4 separate regions of the Homo sapiens genome follow, and regions 1, 3 and 4 are each linked to region 2. The links are contacts of gene promoters, found by promoter capture Hi-C in human tissues and cell types (Jung and others, 2019). All regions are on one chromosome and are shown on one strand. Each heading gives the region's core, a stretch centred on a gene start or on the middle of the fragment in contact. The rest is flanking DNA. Distances are from core to core; before and after follow the strand shown. Region 1 overlaps ETV6 (ETS variant transcription factor 6). Region 2 holds the start of LRP6 (LDL receptor related protein 6). Region 3 has its middle 28 kb from the start of LINC01252. Region 4 has its middle 18 kb from the start of LINC01252.

Region 1 (2,700 bases), core at 199-2,698, 600 kb after region 2:
CTGTAAAGGGAGGGGAAGTAGAAGGGGAAGGAAATGGCTTCTCACTCAACAGCCTCAACAGTGAAGACATTGAGCAAGGGTTCTGGTAGCATTCATGGAGGAAACTTGAAGTCCATAATAGAAGCTTAATAAAGACCTGATGATTAAAAAAATTCTGTTCAACTACTATCCATCGGCCTTCCTCTGTGCCAGGCACCGTGCTGGACACTGGAAATGTAAGCAGCACATTGTCTGAGGATGAGGTGTGTACGCTGAGTGTTTAAGAGGGAGCACAACTTCCGTGGCTGCCCCTACCTGAGCAGCTTCTTAAATGTGTATTTTCACATTCATATACAGACCTATGCTTTCTGCTCCCTAAGTGGTCCAGATCAGCACCCGTAACAACTCTCAACCTACTGCACAAGCCCTCGAGGAGCCCATGTGAGCAAAGCAAGAGGACCCTTAAATGCCCTGAGTGGACAGACAGGCCAAGAGAAGCCTCGTGGAGACTGACCCACCGGCAGCCAAGATGAAGTCAAATCTGGCAGGGCTGGCAGGCAGCTGCCGCGTAGGTCTGCAACAGAAAGCCCCCAGCAGGCGGTCAGGAAAACTTGTGACGGTTTCGGGGAAACTGTAAAAGGACTCTTGCTGGGGTCTGGTTGGGTTCAGGAAGCTAAAAGTTTTCACATATCCTAATGCCCTGAATCCCAGCTGTACCTCAATGGCAACAGAAATAGGGAGAAAACGAGCTATTCAGGCTTGTGTGGAAGGCCCAGTTTGGTCTGCTTATATCTGAAAGTAACCTGATTTCTCCCAAGTGGTCCATTTCCCACTTATCAGATCACACTTAATCAGATTCATAACCCTAACACACTCTCTTAAGACTGCCCTCTTTAAATAAATGTCACTGGGCTATCCACTGTAAACAGCAATATTGAGGCTGTCCTACCATCCGTAAGACATAACTTTGAGTTGTTTTTCTAGTCCCATAGTATGCCCAGTCATTCTCACTGGTTTAGTCCCTCCAGGCAACCCATTAGGAGTAAAATGAGAGCTCCAGAGAGATCTTCATCTCAGATAGGGTAGGAGAGAACATGGGCTGTACAAGAGAAGACTGGAAAGAGCTGACTCAAGTAAGAGAGGGATTCTTCCCTTGACATGGAAAGGCCAATCACAGACCTCAGAGAAGTTTCAGCAAGCCGTGCTGCTCTTCCGGGTTCTCTCTCCCTACTAGCTCTTAGAGGAATGGGGTGGGGGAGCAACTGGCAGCCCCATACGGTGGTGACCTGCCACTGGGTCCCAGATACCACAGCCAGCTATGGCCAAGACCGCACACAGCTACAACAAACAGCCACTGGTTCTCTCTCCCTGACCCAAGAGGCATCCTGAGCCACATCAAAAAAAAGGATGATCAGTTAATACATTCATTTATCTTGGGCTGTCTCTGCTGTTTCTGGCACATCCAGCCTGAAGGTTCTCAAGCTTCTTCTCCAGCTATCTATATTCCCCTCTAGAAAGTAGGCAACTGAGAAGGAGAGCATTTGTGAGTGCCCTGTGTGTACATGTCAGTACTTATGCCTCACAGGAGCCCCTTAGGTATGGGAGGTGGCAGTATGTTCGCCCTGACATGGAGTCCTGATATGTTTCAAAACACAGGTCTCTACCTTTCTTCTTTCCTCAACCCTCACAGAGTATTTGCTCAGGATGTCAACTGTGTGAGGTCTTTATCTTACATATCAAAGAGCCTGGCACCAATTAAGTCCGTAACAGAAGCTTAATAAATACCTACTGATTAAGAAATTCTATTCAATTAATAGCCATTGGCTGTCCTCTGTGCCAGACCTTGAGCTGGACACTGGAAATATAAAAATGAACCCATCAGACTCCTGTCCTCAGCAGGCTTTCAGTCTAGTGTGGATGATAATTCAAGGATAACTGGATTGTTGCCAATAACAGAAGCAAGTTCAATAAGCTGGGGGAACACTGTGCCCAGCAGCAACAGGGAGGCTTGAGAAATGGACTTCCAATGACAAATTGGCTGCCAGGCAGAAAGAAGATCGAGGGAAGATTCCAGGCATAAATGTTTGTTACATGGGATGGGCATAGTGGCTCATGCCTATAATCCCAGCACTTTGGGAGGCCGAGTTGGGCGGATCACTTGAGCCCAGGAGTTTGAGACCAGCCTGGTGAAACCCTGTCTCTACTAAAAATACAAAAATTAGCCTAGTGTGGTGGTACGTGCCTGTGGTGTCAGCTACTCGGGAGGCTGAGATGGGAGAATCACCTGAGCCCAGAAGGCAGTGGTTGCAGTGAGCTGAGATTACTCTAGCCTTGGCCACAGAGCGAGACCATGTCCTCCTGAGAAAAAAGTTCATTATGTGGTTGGAACATAATGTGGAGATGATACTAGAAAGGTAGGCAGTAAAGGGCCTTGCAGGTGACAAGAAGCTGTGGTTCATGCTACACTGTGGTACTGTGGTGTGAGACAGAGAGTAACAAGATCACATTTTTATCTGCAAAGAATCATTCCAAGTTGTGTTGGGGGTGGGGACAAAATGGAGGAAGGAAGATCAGAGAGGAGACAACTGAAAGGTCTGGGGCCAGAAGGAAGGCAGTGACAGCCGGTATGGAGGAGAAAGACGAGTATGCACCAGACTGCCTGGCAGGCTGGAAAAGATGGCACACCTGCCCTCCCAAAGCTTCCATTCCAGTAGCAGTAAG
Region 2 (2,700 bases), core at 7-2,506:
AAGGAGCGGAGTGGCTTAAGTCAGAGACCTGGATTGGGCTGAGGTACTGCTATTCATTACTTGAGTGGCCCTGGGTAAGTCATTAACCTCTCAGGTTCTCATTTTGCTCCTCTGTGCAATAAAGAATAAGTAACAAAACCTGCCTTTCCCCAGGGTAGTTTTGAGTGTCAAATATGATAACTTGTGTTCAAGCACTAGTGAACTCCAATGTCACTGAGGTACTTGTTAACATTGTGGTAGCAGCTCCACTTTCTTGCCCATCTGCCTCCAGGTAAGGGCGTGTGACAGCTGGGCAGGATGCATCTGATGGCTCCATTAGGGTTAACTGTTGGAGCGCCTCTGCCCAGACGAAAGCCTGGCAGGTGATTTCAGGGGGCGTCTGGGCCATTACTCCTGAATGCCCAATGCACTGGGAGTAGCAGAGGCTGTGCACAGTCTGAGATTCTAGGGAATCTTTTCCTTCTCAAGCTGAGAATTGATAATCGAAGCATGCCAAACATTCGTTATTATATGCAACTTGTAAAATCCTAAATAGTCTTGTCCAATTGTCCCTTTGCTCTTAGGTTTTGAGGCATTTATCTTGGAATTTTATCTGCCAGTTTAGAAATCTTTAGCTGGTCGGGCTTAATTCTGGGGGCAGTTTGTATTTCTGGGAAGGCGGGAGAAAAATGACAATCTCAGTTTTGAATTGGCGTTTTAATATCGTTCACCAGATCCACGCTGAAAGCCGGTGTAAACAGCGTTCAAAAATTCCGCCCTCCCAAAAAAAGGATGCTGAAACCGATTTCCAACCCCGAAGACGGAGCTCATCACCCCGCAACGGGATCCGCCGTGGCTCCCCGCGCGTGCACCGCGGCTGGGCAGTCTCAGGTGGCTGGGGGCGCGAGACCGGAGCCCCACCTGGCCCTGCCGGCGGCGGCCGCACAAAGAGCGGGGCAGACGGCTGCCCGGCCGAGCCGCAGAAAGTAGTCCCGACCACGCCGGCTCCAATGTTGTTCAACGCCGCCTCACGCCCTCCGCGGGGAGGGCCGAAGCGGCCGGTCCGGGAAAGAATCCCGCTGGAATGCGCCACCGGGAGGAGGCTTTCCCTCCCAGTTCGCCTCTGCTAGCCCAGAACCTCTCCCAGGGTCTCAGGCAGAGGCTGTGCGTGCGGTTGCCGACTCCCTTCCCTGGCCGTACAGGAGGCAGTACCGGGAGAAGGGGCTCGTTGCGCGCAGGGACACGGTCGCGGCGACCCTAGGAGGCGGTGCCGACCGTATCCCTGCGCCGCTGCGCGAGGCAGAGGCTGAATGAGGAGCTGCGCGGGGGAAGCGGGGCGCCGGGGGAGGAGGCGGCGGGATGGAAGCAGACGCTGGCGTCGCGCGAGCCCGGGGCCGAGCGGCGCGGTAGAGAGGGCGGCGGCGGCGCGCGCGGAACCTTGACGTGCCCCTTTCTTTCTTCTCTCGCTGGGAAGCTGGGAAGTATGAGCGTGCAGCCCTGCCGCTGCGGCGGCCGCCCCGGCTCCTCGCCTCCCCCACTTCTGGCCACCCCTCGCCGGTGAGAGAAGAGAACGCGAGAAGGGAAGATGGGGGCCGTCCTGAGGAGCCTCCTGGCCTGCAGCTTCTGTGTGCTCCTGAGAGGTGGGAAGAGTGGGGGCACTGGAAAGTTGGTGGGGTTCGGGGGGAGGTGGCCTTGTTGTATGTGTCTAGGGGGAGGGGAGGGACGGAGGAAGGGAGAAGGGGAGAGGAGCGGGGAGAGGCCTGGTCGTGGGGAGGGGGAGAGAAAGGGGCCCGGGAGCAGGGGCTGCGTGCACCGCCCGGCCACAATGCGGACCTGGCCTGGCTTCCCAGACCTTCCCCGGACACATCGGAGCTTCGATCCCGGCTGCTGGTCTTAGGGAACCCTTGGCACCCCATGCTGTCGGGATGACTGAGTGTCTGTGTGCCTCTCTCTGCCTGGGGTCTTCCAGGGAAAAGGGTCTTTGTACGTATTTTGGCTTTTAAAATGTTTGAGTCCGAGATGCTTTAAGGTTGGCCTTATCCATCGAAGCCCCGCCACCCACTCCCCACCCCGTTTCGGTGTTTCTTAGGTGAACTTTTAAAGCCCTCTTGCTATTTTTTCCAGGCCTTGTTACAGGTAATGATTGGCTTCCGTTTGGGATATAATGACCCTGGGTGAGAGCGCAGTTGGAAAGTGACTCCGGGGTTATAGGTCGAGCGTTTCAGCATTGGGAGCCTTCTGAGCTTCAGCCCATAATAAAATAAAACATTGCCCTTGTAACCTCTGGTATTCACGGCTTGCCCCTATTTTCGGAGTATGCAAGTGTACAGTTGGCACTAAGTAGGGAAATTCATCCTCGTGTGAAGAGGAGCCGGTCCTGGGACCAAAATGATAATTTGCTCTGCACCCCTGGGGACTGCTTGGCACTTTGGTAAATTGCATAGGCTGTTCGAGATAATTTGCTCTGGGAATCGCTTGAATTCGATGGCACTATGATGTTTTGAATTGGACTGCAAAGCTGACACATGCTCTGTGACTTTTGTGACAGTTCACAAAGATTTTTGACTGGCCCGTCGGCAGCTCTTCTCAAACTATTTAGTGTTGAACTTGAGATGGCTGTGATGGCTGTGGAGCATTTACCAGCAGAGGAATTTAAGTACTGCTCGATACGGTGGCTTGTAGTTTTGGTTTGGTAAAGTTCTTACTGGCGTTCATAGTAAG
Region 3 (2,700 bases), core at 20-2,519, 690 kb after region 2:
TCTGACTTTGGGGATTTAAATAACATGTTTCTCTAAGTCTCTGGCTCTAATAATGGAAAGCAATGACTTTTAAGACCTTTTTCTCTGCTATGGACTTTACAGAATTATTCTCAAGAGCTTCAGGTTAAAGATTTAATTGTTCTCTCTGTATCATCTTTGTATCTGTATTTCTAAAACCCTAACACTCCTTGAATGGTGGGGAAAGAAAAGATAAGTAAGAGGAATTAAGAAAAATCACATAGTTGAATATCAAAATATTAACCCACTATAGGAACAAAAATATTCATTGAACAATGAATTATGTGAGGTGATAAAGAAACTTTTATTAACAAGAATTTCATTGGTAGGAGGGACTTGACTAGATGAAAATCTTTTAATCACCTTGAAGTAAAAACTGAAATACTAGGGGCGTGTTACAACAAATTTGGTCTGCAAACAACTGCACCAAAGACAAAGGGAGGAATCTGTCCGGCAAAGGAGGATGGAGGTTAATGAGTAGAGGAGACTGAGGGAGAGAGAAAGCAAGAAAGATGGTGAGATGATGTGCACTGTGAAATGGAAATGTAGTCTATGACAAAGAAAAGTAAATTTCACTGTGAAAGAAAGGTAGGATTTGGAGTTTAGTAGGCAATCTAAGAAGGTAGGAACTGATATAGTTTGGATATTTGTCCCCACCCAAATCTCATATCAAATTGTAATCCCCAATGTTGGAGGTGGGACTGGTGGGAAGTGATAGGATTGTGGAGGTGGATTTCTCACGAATGGTGTAGCACCATCCCTCTTAGTACTGTCCTCACAATAGTGAGTGAGTGAGTTCTCATGAGATCAGATCATTTAAGTGTAAAACCTCCCATCTTACTCTCTCTTGCTCCTGCTCCTGCCATGTGAGACTCCTACTCCCTTTTGCCTTCCACTATGATTGGAAGCTTCCTGAGGCCTCCCCAGAACCAGAAGCTGCTATGCTTCCTGTACAGTCTGCAAACCCATGAGCCAATTAAACCTCTTTTCTTTATAAGTTGCCCTGTCTCAGGTATTTCTTTACAGTAATGTGGGAACAGACTAACACAGGGACATATAGGAGAAAATAGAACTAAGCAACATGGCATTAGTTTGGACATAATTACCTATCAGGCTATTACATTAGCTTGAATGATCCTCACAACAACACTAAGATTTAAGTACTATCATTATTATCCCCATTTTAAAATGTGGAAACAAAGACAAAGGGAAGTGAAGTAACTTAACCCAGTATCAGGGGAAACTCCTCCCTCATAGAGAATGGTGAAGAGTAACAAGAAGGCCAAGGAGATGACTAAGCCAGTAACCAGGTTGGCTTGCTGCCACTTTGGAGGTGTGAAAATAGACAAAGAGACTCAAGCAAGACAGCACAGCACACAGTGGGAACATCAGCATGGTAATTCTGGTTCTCCTGTCCCAAAGTCCCATGGGGTGGTAATGGGCAGCTACTCACACAGTGGGTTGTGCCACATGCGGGGAACCTAGGGTTAAAGGCTCAGCACCTCTTATAGCAAGCAGCAAAGGGGCTAGTCCCCTGCCCAAGGAATAAGCTGTAAGGTAATCATGATGTGGGTACCATGGCCAACTTAACTGTTACATGACTAGCTACAGAAACCTCTTTTAAGGCATCCTTAGAGATTGTCTGCCTTTTCTCATAAGGCAACTTCCATACAGACAGTAAACTGGAATACACTCTAAGGACCACCTTTCACTCTTTGCCTATATTTCATCTCATATTCTTCTACAACACATTGACAAAAAACATTAAAAATATAATAATTCCTAAACTGCATAGTTTGTGAGTCCCCTTTATATACATTATAACATTTAAGTTTTCTTTACAACAGTGGTTTTTATTTGGGGTTTGAGGGTAATTTTACCCCTCACTCCCTGGGGACATTTGGCAATGTCTGGAGACATTTTTGGTTGTCACACTAGAAGTTGGGGGAGTGGTACTGGCATCTAGTGGGCAGAGATCAGAGATGCTATGATGCACAGGGCAGCCCTACATAACAAAGAATTTTACAGCCCCAGATGTCAAGAGTGCTGATAATGAGATTGAGAAATCATGCTTCACAGTTTCCTCATATTATATAAGGAAAACTTAATGAAAACAGGCCCAGAATGGAGGGGAATCAACTAATGATGGAACAAAAGGTCTATCTAGCTATTGTAGTAGCAGTAGAGCATCACTAAGTATTTCAATACTTTGTCAATTATAAGAGAATGTAAGAATGAAGAGGATTTCATCTTTATGGCTGGAACAGTTGTTAGTTGATCTACTATTTGCATAGTTGAAGAGAACCAAGCACATAAAATCTTGTGAGTGGTATAGTTGATCAAAAGCAGACCTGCTCCCAGAAGTTATGACTCCAGACCATTGATGCTCACACCCAGGTAGAAAGGGTAGCATGTGAAGAAGACAGGGGCCTTATAGGTGGAGAGAAGCTTGCAGGTACATGATGTTTGCCACAGTTCACATTTGGCTGAGATAATGGGGATAAAAGTATGATTTTTCAAAGTGCTCTGTGGCCTTTTCCATCATTGCAAAGTAGTGGAGGCTTAGGGTTTTGTCCATAAGAGCAATTTAAAATTACTTCAAATTTCTGCAACTCTATAGTATTAACACATTTAAAGTAGATACAGAAATAAAAATGTGCATGACCCTTCATCAAGGATTCT
Region 4 (2,700 bases), core at 107-2,606, 740 kb after region 2:
AGAAGCAAGAGCAAACACATACAAAAGCTAGCAGAAGGCAAGAAATAGCTAAGATCAGAGCAGAACTGAAGGAGACAGAAACACAAAAAAACCCTTCAAAAAATCAATGAATCCAGGAGCTGGTTGTTTGAAAAGATCAACAGAACTGATAGACTGCTAGCAAGACTAATAAAGAAGAAAAGAGAGAAGAATCAAATAGACACAATAAAAAATGATAAAGGGGATATCACTACTGATCCCACAGAAATACAAACTACCATCAGAGAATACTATAAACACCTCTATGCAAATAAACTAGAAAATCTAGAAGAAATGGATAAATTCCTGGACACATACACCCTCCCAAGACTAAACCAGGAAGAAGTTGAATCCCTGACTAGACTAATAACAGGCTCTGAAATTGAGGCAATAATTAATAGCTTACCAACAGAAAAAAGTCCAGGACCAGATGGATTCACAGCCAAATTCTACCAGAGTTACAAGGAGGAGCTGGTACCATTCCTTCTGAAACTATTCCAATCAACAGAAAAAGAGGGAATCCTCCCTAACTCATGTTATGAGGCCAGCATCATCCTGATACCAAAGCCTGGCAGAGACACAACAAAGAAAGAGAATTTTAGACCAATATCCCTGATGAACATCGATGCAAAAATCCTCAATAAAATACTGGCAAACTGAATCCAGCAGCACATCAAAAAGCTTATCCACCATGATCAAGTGGGCTTCATCCCTGGGATGCAAGGCTGGTTCAATATACGCAAATCAATAAATGTAATCCAACATATAAAAAGAACCAAAGACAAAAACCACATGATTATCTCAATAGATGCAGAAAAGGCCTTTGACAAAATTCAACAGCTCTTCATGCTAAAAACTCTCAACAAATTAGGTATTGATGCGAAGTATCTCAAAATAATAAGAGCTACTTATGACAAACCCACAGCCAATATCATACTGAAGGGGCAAAAACTGGAAGCATTCCCTTTGAAAACTGGCACAAGACAGGGATGCCCTCTCTCACCGCTCCTATTCAACATAGTGTTGGAAGTTCTGGCCAGGGCAATCATACAGGAGAAAGAAGTAAAGGGTATTCAGTTAGGAAAAGAGGAAGTCAAATTGTCCCTGTTTGCAGATGACATGATTGTATATCTAGAAAACCCCATCTTCTCAGCCCAAAATCTCCTTAAGCTGATAAGCAACTTCAGCAAAGTCTCAGGATACAAAATCAATGTGCAAAAATCACAAGCATTCTTATACACCAATAACAGACAAACAGAAAGCCAAATCATGAGTGAACTCCCATTCACAATTGCTTCAAAGAGAATAAAATACCTAGGAATCCAACTTACAAGGGATGTGAAGGACCTCTTCAAGGAGAACTACAAACCACTGCTCAACGAAATAAGAGAGGACACAAGCAAATGGAAGAACATTCCATGCTCATGGATAAGAAGAATCAATATCGTGAAAATGGCCATACTTCCCAAGGCAATTTATAGATTCAATGCTATCCCCATCAAGCTACCAATGACTTTCTTCACAGAATTGGAAAAAACTACTTTAAGGAAAGAAAGAAAAGAAAGAGAGAGAGAGAAAGAAAGAGAAAGAGAAAGAAAGAAAGAAATAAAGAACAGCATAGAAAGCAGATATATGGGTACAAAGGGTAGGGCATCCTTTTTCTCATGAGGTTTATAAAAATATTTGAAGGTCAAAGCCAAAATTATAACATTATCTGATGCTCAAGACAGTAATATAAAAAATCATGGAAGGTAAAGGTTTCTTTTTTTTTTAATGTGCTTATTTATTTATTTACAGACATTCAATCAATTGGTATTTGCTATTTACTTGTCTTTTTATTATTATTATTATACTTTAAGTTTTAGGGTACATGTGCAAAACAGGCAGGTTTGTTACATATGTATACATGTGCCATGTTGGTGTGCTGCACCCATTAACTCGTCATTTAGCATTAGCTATATCTCCTAATGCTATCCCTCCCCCTTCTCCCCACCCCACAACAGTCCCCGGTGTGTGATGTTCCCCTCATGGAAGGTAAAGATTCCTACATTTCACTTAAAATAGCAAAACACTGATACCAGCAGACTGCAATAAGTCACATATGTATGCTTGAAATATCCAGTGCAATCAAAATAAAAATGGTACAAAGAAACACACTCAAAAAGATTATCAATAAACCAAAATGAAATGCTGAAGTTTACTCAAGTAACTCAAAGGAAGACAAGAAAAGAGAAACCAGAATGAAAACCCAAGGAAACAAGCAGAAAACAAATGACAAAATGGGAGGCTTAAGCTCGAACATATCGATGATTACCTTAAATGTAAATGCTCTAAATACACAAACACGAAGACAGAGATGGGAGGAGTAGGTTAAAGCACACACAGAGACACACACACACTCACACTTCAACTATATATTGAGTACAAGGAGCTCATTTCAGATTCAATAACCTAGGTAGGTTGAAAGTGAAAGGATGAAAAAAATTACCATGAAAAATTAATTTAAAGAAAGTAGTTAGGAGTGGCTATATTTTCCAATAAAATAGACTTCAGAGCAAAGAGACTTAGTACAGACAAAACCCAACATTTCATAGTGATGAAAAACTCAATCCAGCAGAAAGTCATAACAATTCTAAATGTGTATGCATCAAAAACAGTGCTTCAAAAATACAAAGCAAAAAC

The links. The method cuts DNA at HindIII sites, captures the fragments that hold promoters and counts their contacts. A contact is called where the count stands out against the background at its distance.
Region 1: a fragment that was not itself captured here is called in contact with the fragment with the promoter of LRP6 in region 2 in 3 of the 25 tissues and cell types used here (aorta, hippocampus and mesenchymal stem cells).
Region 3: a fragment that was not itself captured here is called in contact with the fragment with the promoter of LRP6 in region 2 in 4 of the 25 tissues and cell types used here (dorsolateral prefrontal cortex, heart left ventricle, liver and 1 more).
Region 4: a fragment that was not itself captured here is called in contact with the fragment with the promoter of LRP6 in region 2 in 1 of the 25 tissues and cell types used here (heart left ventricle).

The regions. Positions count from the first base shown.
Region 1 is chr12:11,664,672-11,667,371 of GRCh38, reverse strand. All of the region lies in intron 1 of ETV6 (ETS variant transcription factor 6), which reads right to left. Among named protein-coding and RNA genes, the nearest start is that of ETV6, 16 kb to the right of the region's middle. RefSeq lists enhancers at 1-411, 412-1,045. The HindIII fragment of the contact is 4,639 bases long and covers 1-2,700 here.
Region 2 is chr12:12,265,600-12,268,299 of GRCh38, reverse strand. LRP6 (LDL receptor related protein 6) reads left to right here and starts at 1,256. Exons shown (of 23, transcript NM_002336.3): 1 at 1,256-1,619. The coding sequence starts at 1,565. RefSeq lists enhancers at 1,026-1,075, 613-1,249 and a silencer at 1,256-1,565. The HindIII fragment of the contact is 18,079 bases long and covers 1-2,700 here.
Region 3 is chr12:11,574,974-11,577,673 of GRCh38, reverse strand. No RefSeq gene overlaps it. Among named protein-coding and RNA genes, the nearest start is that of LINC01252, 28 kb to the right of the region's middle. The HindIII fragment of the contact is 3,225 bases long and covers 1-2,700 here.
Region 4 is chr12:11,528,962-11,531,661 of GRCh38, reverse strand. No RefSeq gene overlaps it. Among named protein-coding and RNA genes, the nearest start is that of LINC01252, 18 kb to the left of the region's middle. The HindIII fragment of the contact is 3,263 bases long and covers 1-2,700 here.